Linked DNA regions of Homo sapiens: all the other regions are linked to region 3. Evidence: promoter capture Hi-C in human tissues and cell types (Jung and others, 2019). All regions are on one chromosome and are shown on one strand. Each heading gives the region's core, a stretch centred on a gene start or on the middle of the fragment in contact. The rest is flanking DNA. Distances are from core to core; before and after follow the strand shown.

Region 1 (3,526 bases), core at 90-2,589, 230 kb after region 3:
ACCGGTCTCTCTCCTTCCAGCAAGACCCCCGTGTGATTTCTCTCTCCACATAGCAAGTCCGTGACGTACAAACTTTTGATGCACCCTTTCAGGCAAGGGGAAACCGAGGCACGGAGGTGCTAAGGGACTCTCCAAACCCCTGGGGTGGGGGACGCCCAGGCCCTTTGGACTCACCGTCTCTGCTCAGGGCACCTGCTGCCTCTCGCCACCGCCTGCTCCATCCATCCTGGCCTCCACAGTCCCCCTCCCTGAGCCGCCCTGAGGGACCCTGTCACCCCACGGACTGGCCTGTGGCTGTGACTTGGTGCCCACCTGGCCCGGCCTCCCGCTGTCCCCAACACCCACCATTATTGTCCACGTCGCCCCAGCCAGTGACCCAGCACGGCATCCCCGGGGGGAAGGTCTCCGAGGCAGGGGGCAGCGTGACCGTGTGGATGTGGCTGGAGATGTTCACGGGCTCCTCCAGCTCCAGCAGGGCGATGTCCGCCCCGGTCTGGATGATGTAGAACTGTGGGTGCACGATGATCCTGCTGACCGGCAGCAGCTGGTCCTGGTAGTAGAGGTGCTGCTCCCGCAGTTGCACCCTGAGGGCGGCCAGATCCTTGATGTCCCTGGGCAGCGGAGGATCCCACTCAGGGCCCTGGGCAGCCCCCAGGAGCACCCGGGAGCCAGGGCTCACATCCAGCCCTTGCCCACCCCTCCAGGCCCCAGGAGACTCACGGTTCCACGCAGTGCGCCGCGGTTAGCACCCACTGGGGGTGGATGAGGGAGCCCCCGCAGAAGTGCATCCAGTATGGGCCGCGGACTCTCAGGCTCACCTGCCAGGGCCACTTGCTCCTGGGGGCCTCCTGCCCCCCAACAATGCCCGTTTGCTGCAGGGCCTGGCCTGGGGCTGGGGCAGGTGCCAGGTCAGGACCAAGAAGCCGCCCCACGCCTGGGACCAGCCCTTCCCTGTGTGGGGGCCAGCCCGGCCTCCCCAGAACCCACCCAGGCCCTGATCTGTGGAATGTGGTGAGGGGCAGGGTGGACCCCGGCTGGGACTCACCAGGGGCCACGTAGGCCGGGCTCGCCAGGACGGGCAGCGCCAGCAGCAGCAGGCTCAGCATCTGGGGAGCAAGGAGGAGCATCGTGGGCCTGGCCGGGCCTCACAGGGCAGGGCTGGGGGCTACAGATTGTGGGGTGAAGAATGGAGCTGGGACGGGGGGACCGGGGTGGGTCCAGGCCTGCGGGCCTGGGTCTTGGTGCTCTGAGTCTGAGGCTGGGCCACTCTGCTCCAGGTGACGCTGATGTCAGGGTCTCTGAGAGTAGGGACTTACCCTGGCCACTCCCTGTTCCTTCTACCCAGCGGGCTCTCCCCTCCCCATTTATGCTTCCAGATCAGGAGGGGGCGGAGGAGGGGCGCTGGGTCCTCCCATCCAGACTCGGAGGAAGTGGATGACTCAGACCCAGGGCCCCCGTGTAACACATGCCCCCGCCACCCCGATGCCCTCTGTGTGTGGGGCTGCCAGGCAGGCCCCGCCGAGGGCTGAGCACTGGAGGCTCGCAGCTCCACCTGTCAGCTGGTGGATCCCAGCACTGGAACCCACCACCTTCCCGCTGGTGGGATCTGCTCCTGCCCCTGTCTCGGTGCCAGGAGGCCTTCAGGCATAGCTGCACCCAGGTGGCCTGGCTGCCCCAGGCTACAAGACCCGTCGCTCCTGAAACCTGTTTCCCCAAGAGGGACACGGGGTGAGGAACTCATGTCCATGGGCCACCCTCCAAGAGACGGGAAGGTGCCCACGGGGTGGGGACATGACGGGTGACACCCCTCCTACGGACTCCGAATCCACGGGGGTGGGGCCAGCCCTCCTCGACTCACTTGGTTGGGGGCTCACATGAGACCCCTTTGTCAGATGGGGAAACAGCCTTGAGAGGGGACAGCACCAAGTGTCCTCAGCCAGGAAGGGGCCCTGCTCCCCACCTCCCGTATGAGACCCAAGTCCTCCAACGATTCCTCAATGTCCACCTCTGGGGCTGTCCGTGCAGGTCCCCTGGTCTGCAGGTGCCTTCTTATCATGGGATCTGAGCTTCATCCGCAGAGGGAAGGGCAGACAGGAGTGCAGGTGCAACCCCAGGAGACCCAGCCCAGCTCCCCATGGACTCACCCCCAGCCCCAGCCCAGCTCCCCATGGACTCACCCACAGCCCCAGCCCAGCTCCCCATGGACTAGTCCCAGCCCCAGCCCCAGCTCCCCATGGAGTAGTCCCAGCCCCAGCCCCAGCTCCCCATGGACTCACCCACAGCCCCAGTCCAGCTCCCCATGGACTCACCCCCAGCCCCAGCCCAGCTCCCCATGGACTCACCCCCAGCCCCAGCCCAGCTCCCCATGAACTAGTCCCAGCCCCAGCCCAGCTCCCCATGGACTAGTCCCAGCCCCAGCCCAGCTCCCCATGGTCTCACCCCCAGCCCCAGCCCAGCTCCCCATGGACTAGTCCCAGCCCCCGGCCCCAGCTCCCCATGGACTCACCCCCAGCCCCAGCCCAGCTCCCCTTGGTCTCACCCCCGGCCCCAGCTCCCTGTGCTCTCCATCCCATTCAGCGCTGACACTGTCCCTGCAGCTCCGTCCACCCCACCTCCTGACTCACCTGGGCCTGTTGGTCACTGGGGCCTCCAGCCCACCTCCTCTGCTTCTGAGCCCCAGGACCCCCTGCCTGCCCCCCGACCCCCAACACAGGGCCACTCCGGGGCTCCTCCTGCCCCCACCCTGCCTGGGACCAGCCTGGTTTGAGGCTGACTCTGCACTGCGGGGCCATATCCATCTGGACTCCTTCCGGGCTGCACCCCCCGGGGGACAGGCAGGGGTGGCCCAGACCGCTCCTGCTCATGACCCTGCTTCTCCTCCATTCTCTGGACAAACTCCCCAGAGGCCTCCACCTGCCCCGTCCTGGTTCCATGAATGAGGCCCACAAGATGGGACCTTCAGGAGCCCAGGAGGTGAGGGGATGGGGTGACGGGGGACACCAGGGATGAGGGTGTGGCAGGGACACGGGAGACACCAGGGCTGACGGTGAAGAAGAGACTCAGGGGACACCAGGGCTGGGAGAACCCAGGGACACACGGGGACACCGGGGCTGTGGTGTGCAGAGGGCTCTGGGACCCCCGAGTCAGGGGCTCTGGGGCCGCTCCTCCTAGGAATGCTCCGATTGGGTCAGGCCTGGGAGGCGGACCAATCAGCACCATGGGGATGCGAGAGCCTTGATTGGCTAACACTGGGCCAATCAGGGCGCGTCCTGGGCACCCCGCCCCGATCCCCGGCCGCTCCCCTGGGGCTGCTGCAGGGCTGGGGTCCCAGGCCATTGACAGACACTGGGCAAGAGGCCACGTGGGGCAGTGTCCCCGAGAGAAGGGTGGGGAGTCGGGTGAGACGACAGTGGCCGCGCCCAGACTCAGGGCAGCGATGGGAAACTCAGCCCCAGGAGCTTGCTGGGCTGGGGAGACGCACCTGGCGCGTGCAGAGGCCCCGGCAGCCATGACTCACGAGGCGGAG
Region 2 (3,312 bases), core at 176-2,675, 150 kb before region 3:
CTGCGGAGTGGGGAACCCCCCCAGGCTGTGGCGTGGGGACCTTCCCCAAGCTGTAAAGCAGGGAACCCCCAGGCTGTGGAGTAGGGTGGCGGGGCCCTGCCCTGAAGTGCAGCCCAACAGCAGCAACTGGGCAGATGTCAACTGGACCATCAGGGGCCCGGTTGTTTGTGTGGCCAGGAGAGCATGTGCCCTCTGGGAGTCAGGTGTGTGAGGGGAGGAGAGCGGCCAGTTGGAGACAGAAGCATCCAGGGCACAAGAAGGCAGGGAAGCTGTCAGAAGTGGCCCAGGACACGACAAAAATGCAATGGAAAGGAGAGGCCCTAGAAGCCGGGGACCAGCCCCACAGCAGGCACAAAGGTGGAGGAAAAGGAGCACAAAAAGCAGGGCCCTGAGTGCTGCGTCGAGACCACAACGCCCAGCCAGAGACCCTCGGGAAGGAGGAGGCCAAAGACGGCACTTCCTTCCCTCCCCGGGGCAGGCACAGGCTCTGGGCGCAGTCACTGCTCCCTGGACCAAGCACCTTTTGTTGGGACTGAACACGTAACTGAGAGGTTATGAAGTTTTAACTCGGAAGGTCCTCACTGAGAGCATTTCAGCTTCTGTATTTTAGAGAATAAACACAAAACACCCAGAGAAGTGATGTTTCACATGGAAACTGGGACTTACCCAACCTGAATGAGTTCATTCAGCTTTGTTGCATTCTTGTCATCCATACCTTTAAATGGAAAAAATAAATAAATGAGACCACAATGTAGTTAGGAGCAAAGCCACTGAAGATTCCCATACAATTCCGCTCAATATAGACTCAAATCCCATTACCGAATATTAAAGTTCCTCTGGAATAAAAGCCCTACAGTAGCTGCAGCCCCTCCCTCAAAGTCACACCTTCGAGTCAGCTGCCCTGGTCGCCCCCGCTCACCTGAAAGCCTGGCACGCCCCTGCCTGGCCCCCTCCTCAGGCAGGCCCACTACCCAGCCTCTGACCAGTTGATCTGTCCTCCCAAGAGCTCCCTCCTAGGTCCCCCAGCGCCGGCCTTCCACTCATCCCTATCTGCCTGGCTCAACAGCTGCTTCCTGCAGGCACCACACCTGCCCACGCACACTTCCTGCTGGGCTCGTACTGACAGTGTCCGGTGTTGACCTTCCGGCCCACAGTGTGGAACCCCCAAGGCACCCAGGGTCCACAGAATGAAGACTCCGACACCCTCTGAGTTTCCTGGAGCAGACGCCCCATTTCCTGTGACCTGCTCGGGACTCTTCACTATCTTCAAGATGTGCAAGAAAGCAGCTACAGTACGTTAACGGGAGAGACTAGGTGCTGGGTACTTGGCTGTTCACTGTAAAATTCTTTGAATTCTTCTGCATGTTTTAGGGAAAAAAACTCCACAAACGAACGACCAGGCTGAAAACCAAAACCAAAGACAAAATTGTCAAAGCAGCCACAGACAGACAATGCACCTCGCACGGAGGAATGAGGGCATAGATGACCACTGACCCCTCTCATCAGAGCAGCACAGGCCAAGAGGCAGCAGACAACGGTGTCAATGTGATGAAAGAATGAACCCGTCAGATCAGAATTCTCTATCCGGCAAATACATCTTTTAAGAATGAAGATGAAATAAAGAATTTTCAGATTAATAATAACTAAGAATTCACAGCCGGCACAACTGCACGGAAAAAAATACAGGAGGTTTTTCAGAAAGAAAGGAAACAAAGCCAGATGGAAACGGAACTTCAGGAAGGAATGAAAAGCACCGGAAAGGGCTCTTGTCGCCAGGCGAGGCACCAAGAAAGGAACCGGTTGCGGAAACCGGCCAGGCATGGCATGCCACAGGGTCACCGTGCCCCACCTCTCCTGCTCCCGGATGAAGGGTTGGAAGCCTGGGAGCAGTGTGCCCCTCACTCAGCAATCAAGTCATTTATTTTCATCAAACTTGAGCATCCTCATGAGGCAGGAGAATAGGGTCTAGAGGTAGGGAACCTAAGGCCAATTCACGCTGACTTCCTAGAACTAAATCAAAAGGAAAACCCCAACTTTCCACACCTAAGTAACAAACGGACCAGACACGCTATTCCCTTTGCAACGCCCCCTCCCCTTCTTTCTTCATGGCAGATGGGAAATTGAAAGTATCTCTGATTGGTTGCAGAAAGCAGAAAGCAATCGGACATTTACATAGGAGTACAACTTTGGAACTTCACTTCAGCCTGACTGGTTGCTTCTGCTAGGTTTGAAAAAGTCTAAAAAGTCTTCCCCAAGACTGGGGCCAAGTCTTCCTTTGCAAAGAAGTGTAACTTTGTAACCAGTTTAGCTTCTGATTGGTTGTTTTCCACAACCAATCAGATGCTTGCATAGAGTGTAACCTTTGTAACCTCACTTCAGTCTCTGATTGCTGGCCACTACTTCATTTACATAGGGTGTACACCAAGCAGCCAATGGGAAACCTCTAGAGGTTTCCCCCTCTAGAGGGGGAAACTTCTGTAAAAGGGCTCTTGAGCCCCTACGTCCGGGCCCACTCCCACCCTGTGGAGTGTACTTTGGTTTTCAATAAATCTCTGCTTTTGTTGCTTCATTCTTCCCTTGCTTTGTTTGTGCATTTTGTACAATTCTTTGTTCGAAATGCCAAGAACCTGGACACCCTCCACCTCTCAGAAGCTTCTAGGGAGGAAACCAGAACAAGCAGTGGTGCAAAAGGACCAGGCAACAAGGAGTGGGAACACATGGTCAAGATGGGGTTTTCCTTTATCTGGGGAAGATGAGAGCTGGGAGAGCTGTGGCGTAAACTCCTTGGGGCCTGGGATGCTTCCCAAGGCTGAGAGAGGGCAGATGAGAGGCGGCAGGAACAGGCATGAAGAGCTGGGACACGAGGCCCACGGACATGAGTGCGGGCTGGAGAGGCAGGCTGGAGGAGGTAAGAGGAGTGGCTGGGCCCACAGGGGACAGACCCAGTGGGGAAGTGCAGGAGGGCAGGGCCTCCCACACACAAATGCCACACTAGATTGCAGCAGCCACCCCGCAGGACACAGCAAGGCATGGAGGGGCAGCAAGGGGACAGAGTGTGGTGCAGGCCTGGCACAGACAGGGCGACTGCTCCGTATCTGTCCTCTCAGCCCCACCACCCGCCCTGAGCTGTGACATGCTAGCTGGCGTGGTCGTGCAGTATCCCACTGAAGAGGGGGGGATCCCCTACAGTGCCCACTGGACAGCCCAGGCATGCTCTCTTCTTATGAAGTCAGGCAGAAGAAGCAGGGCTGAGGGGCGCTGGGCACAAGCGCCTGGTAAGTCTACAATGTCCCTACCTAGAGGTCGTGTCAA
Region 3 (3,185 bases), core at 288-2,787:
ATGCCCCCAGTGGGACAACTTTGTGGATGATCTTATTCCCATGAGCTGGGCGGCTTGAAACAACAGAAATGAGTCCTATCACAGTTCTGGGGGCTGGAAGTCTTGAAGTGAAGGTGCACACTCCCTCGAAGGCTCTGGGCTGGGGGTTCCCACTTTACCTCTTCCAGCTTCTGGGGCCTCTGGGGGTTCCTCGTGGCAGCGTCACCCCAGTCTCTGCCCCATCTTCACAGGCCGTGTCCTCTGTGCCTCCTCCTCTGTCTCTTGTACCCCTGTCATTGGCTTTAGGGCCACCTGGATAATCCAGGATGGTCTCATCTCAAAATCCTTCATGACATCCGCAGAGACCTTTTCCACATAAGGCCCTGCCTGGGGCTTATGTGTGTTTTTAGGAGGGTCTCATTCAAGCCAGTACACAACCTGTAACCAAAAATACCAGCCTGGCCCACATGGGGCAACCCCGTCTCTACTACAAATACAAAAATTGGCCGGGCGCGGTGGCTCATGCCTGTAATCCCAGCATTTCGGGAGGCTACAGCGGGTGGATCACCTGAGGTCGGGAGTTTGAGACCAGCCTGGCCCACATGGTGAAACCCCGTCTCTACTAAAAATACAAAAATTAGCCGGATGTGGGGGCACATACCTGTAATCCCAGCTACTTGGGAGGCTGAGACAGGAGAATCCGTTAAACCCAGGAGGCGGAGCTTGTGGTGAGCGGAGATCGCACCACTGCACTCCAGCCTGGGTGACAGAGCAAGACTCCGTCAAAAAAATTAATTAATTGGCCAGGCGCAGTGGCTCATGCCTGTAATCCGAACACTTAGGGAGGCTGAGGCAGGCAAATCATGAGGTCAGAAGTTTGAGACCAGCCTGACCAACATAGTGAAACCCCATCTCTACTAAAAATACTAAAATTAGCCGGGCATGGTAAAGCACGCCTGTAATCCCAGCTCCTCAGGAGGCAGGAGGCTGAGGAAGGAGAATCGCTTGAGCCGGGGAGGCAGAGGTTGCAGTGAGCTGAGATTGCGCCATTGCACTCTAGCCTAGGCAACAGAACGAGACTCCATCTCAAATAATAATAATAATTAATTAATTAAGGTGGCTCCCAGTCACATTTCCATTGCTTTACTGAGAGAGACGGGGCCTCCCAGGATGCAGCCGTGCACGGCCTGGGTGATGGGTGCCTGTGCAGACCTGGCTCTGTTGACTCCCCAGCCCCCGTCGGGTTCCCTGTCTTGCTTCGACTTCTCGGGAGCACAAGTCCATGTGCTCCTGTTAAAGCCATCGCCTCCTGCCCGCGGGCTTGCACCCAGCTGAATGATTCTTCAAAGAAACTGTTTGCATCTGTTTTAAGCTTGTCTCCTTAGGAACCTGCAAGTCTCAGAGCCCACTGGCTTGAAGGCAGATGCCTTTCATGGAGGCGGCAGGAAGAACCTGACATCCAGCCAGGGCCAAAGAAGGAAAACCACTCAACAGGAGAGCTGGGGGGACGAGACACAAGACAGACCCACGGAGCCACCTTCACCCTCTCCTGCGGCTGGAGGGAGACTGCTGGGGCCTTGCCGTCTCTCCGGATGGGTTGCTCGTGGAGGAAGACCTTGTCTTTCTTCCTTGTTTTTGTGCCTATATATCTACATGGGGCTTCATCGCAGGAAGCCGCCCCAGTGGGGCCCAGGAAACCGTTTTTCGAGAGGCTCCGTAGGCTGGAGGAACAGGCAAGTTATACCCCTGACATGGCGCAGTCGGGTTTTTAAATTGGCAGCAGATGGAAGACGGATGTTACAGAAGCAGATTGGTAAACATCAGGGCTTGGCGGACACGAACACCGCGTGTGACGCTCTTTCCATCCATGAAGATTATTTCACCTGCAGTTGGACACCAGGGAAGAGCTGAGCTGGGCTCCACTCACACAGGACACAAGCCTCATAACATGTGGGGGTCAGGTGGGGCCAGAGGCTAGAAGGGGGTCTGGAAGGGAGTCAGGGGAACTGGGGGCCATGGGGGCCGGGTAGTGTCATGGGGAGTGGAAACTGGGAGGTCACAGGTCCACCTTGTGGCAGTCGGTGTGAACGGCCTCCCGGACTCCCACGCGGGGTCCACGGACAGTTCCGGAGTGCTGTGGGCCTGTCGGGCCTGCGCTGGGTGCTTCCTGTTTGGGCCTCGTAAAGCACTCATGAGGCCACCCTGCCGTCCCCTGCTCACAGGCAGGAGCTGGAATCACGAGGGAAAGTGACTTGCCGGTGGTTATGGGGTGAGCGGTGGGGATCAGAGCCCCAGCTGTGGGCCTGGAGTCCACACCCCACGTGGTGCAGCTGCATGGCCTGGGGTCAGTCCCTGGCACCCACCACATCTCACGGCATCGCAGTGGGGATCAAATCGGTGGGCAGATAGCCAGTGCTGGCCGTGGCCCGGGCACGCGGCCGCTGCTCCCAACTTGAGAGGGCAAAGCCTTTCCCGTCCCGCCCAGCCGGCCCGGCCCGGCCCGCCCCATCATCACCGTGTCCTCCTTACAGTTCCGGAGATTCCAGGAGGTGACCTGGACACACCTGCAGAACATCGCCAGCAACTACAACGTGTCCTACAACGTTGACGTCCGGTTCCGGAGCCTGGCGGAAGAGAGCCAGGCTGTGGCTCAGGCAGTCAACCGGTCACAGGCCTCGGTGCAGGGGGAGCTGGCGCAGCTCAAGGCCTGGGTGAGGAAGCTGCAGCGCCGAGGCCGGAAAGTAGACACGCGGCTGCGGGCCTTGGACCTCACCCTGGGCGAGAGGAGCCAGCAGCGGGCCCGGGAAAGGAAGGCACACAAGGCCCAGAGGGACGCCCTGCAGGACTCACTGGCACGCCTGGAGGGCCTCGTCCACAGCCAGGGCGCCAGGCTGGCTGCTCTGGAGGGGCGGCTGCCCGTGGCCCACCCTGGCACTGCAGCCCTCGGGCCGGCCCTGGTCCCAACCCCAACCCAGCCTGAGGAGCTGGGCCCGACCTCCCTGAAGCTTCAGAGGGACAGGCAGGAGCTCCGAGCTGCCTCTGAGCACAGGGGCCCCCCACAGGACTCCTCGGCCCCTCTCCAAGGGAGGCGGGAGCCTCCAGCCTCAGGCAGCCATCGGGTACTCAGTGGGACTGCCCCAAAAGACCCTCGGCAGCAGGCATGGTCCCCCCAGGTGCCAGGAGAGAGTAAGTACCACAGGCTCCCA

The links. Contacts are between HindIII fragments. The study calls those that stand out against the background at their distance.
Region 1: the fragment with the promoter of TPSD1 here is called in contact with the fragment with the promoter of PTX4 in region 3 in 1 of the 25 tissues and cell types used here (spleen).
Region 2: a contact is called between a fragment that was not itself captured here and the fragment with the promoter of PTX4 in region 3, in 3 of the 25 tissues and cell types used here (dorsolateral prefrontal cortex, mesenchymal stem cells and spleen).

Annotation. Positions count from the first base shown.
Region 1 is chr16:1,253,882-1,257,407 of GRCh38, reverse strand. TPSD1 (tryptase delta 1) reads right to left here and starts at 1,339. Exons shown (of 5, transcript NM_012217.3): 1 at 1,046-1,339; 2 at 721-892; 3 at 346-611. The coding sequence starts at 1,127. The HindIII fragment of the contact is 12,300 bases long and covers 1-3,526 here.
Region 2 is chr16:1,638,542-1,641,853 of GRCh38, reverse strand. It overlaps CRAMP1 (cramped chromatin regulator 1), which reads right to left. Exons shown (of 21, transcript NM_020825.4): 6 at 667-715. Among named protein-coding and RNA genes, the nearest start is that of CRAMP1, 28 kb to the right of the region's middle. The HindIII fragment of the contact is 5,606 bases long and covers 1-3,312 here.
Region 3 is chr16:1,487,296-1,490,480 of GRCh38, reverse strand. PTX4 (pentraxin 4) reads left to right here and starts at 1,537. Exons shown (of 3, transcript NM_001328608.2): 1 at 1,537-1,712; 2 at 2,511-3,165. The coding sequence starts at 1,572. The HindIII fragment of the contact is 5,905 bases long and covers 1-2,168 here.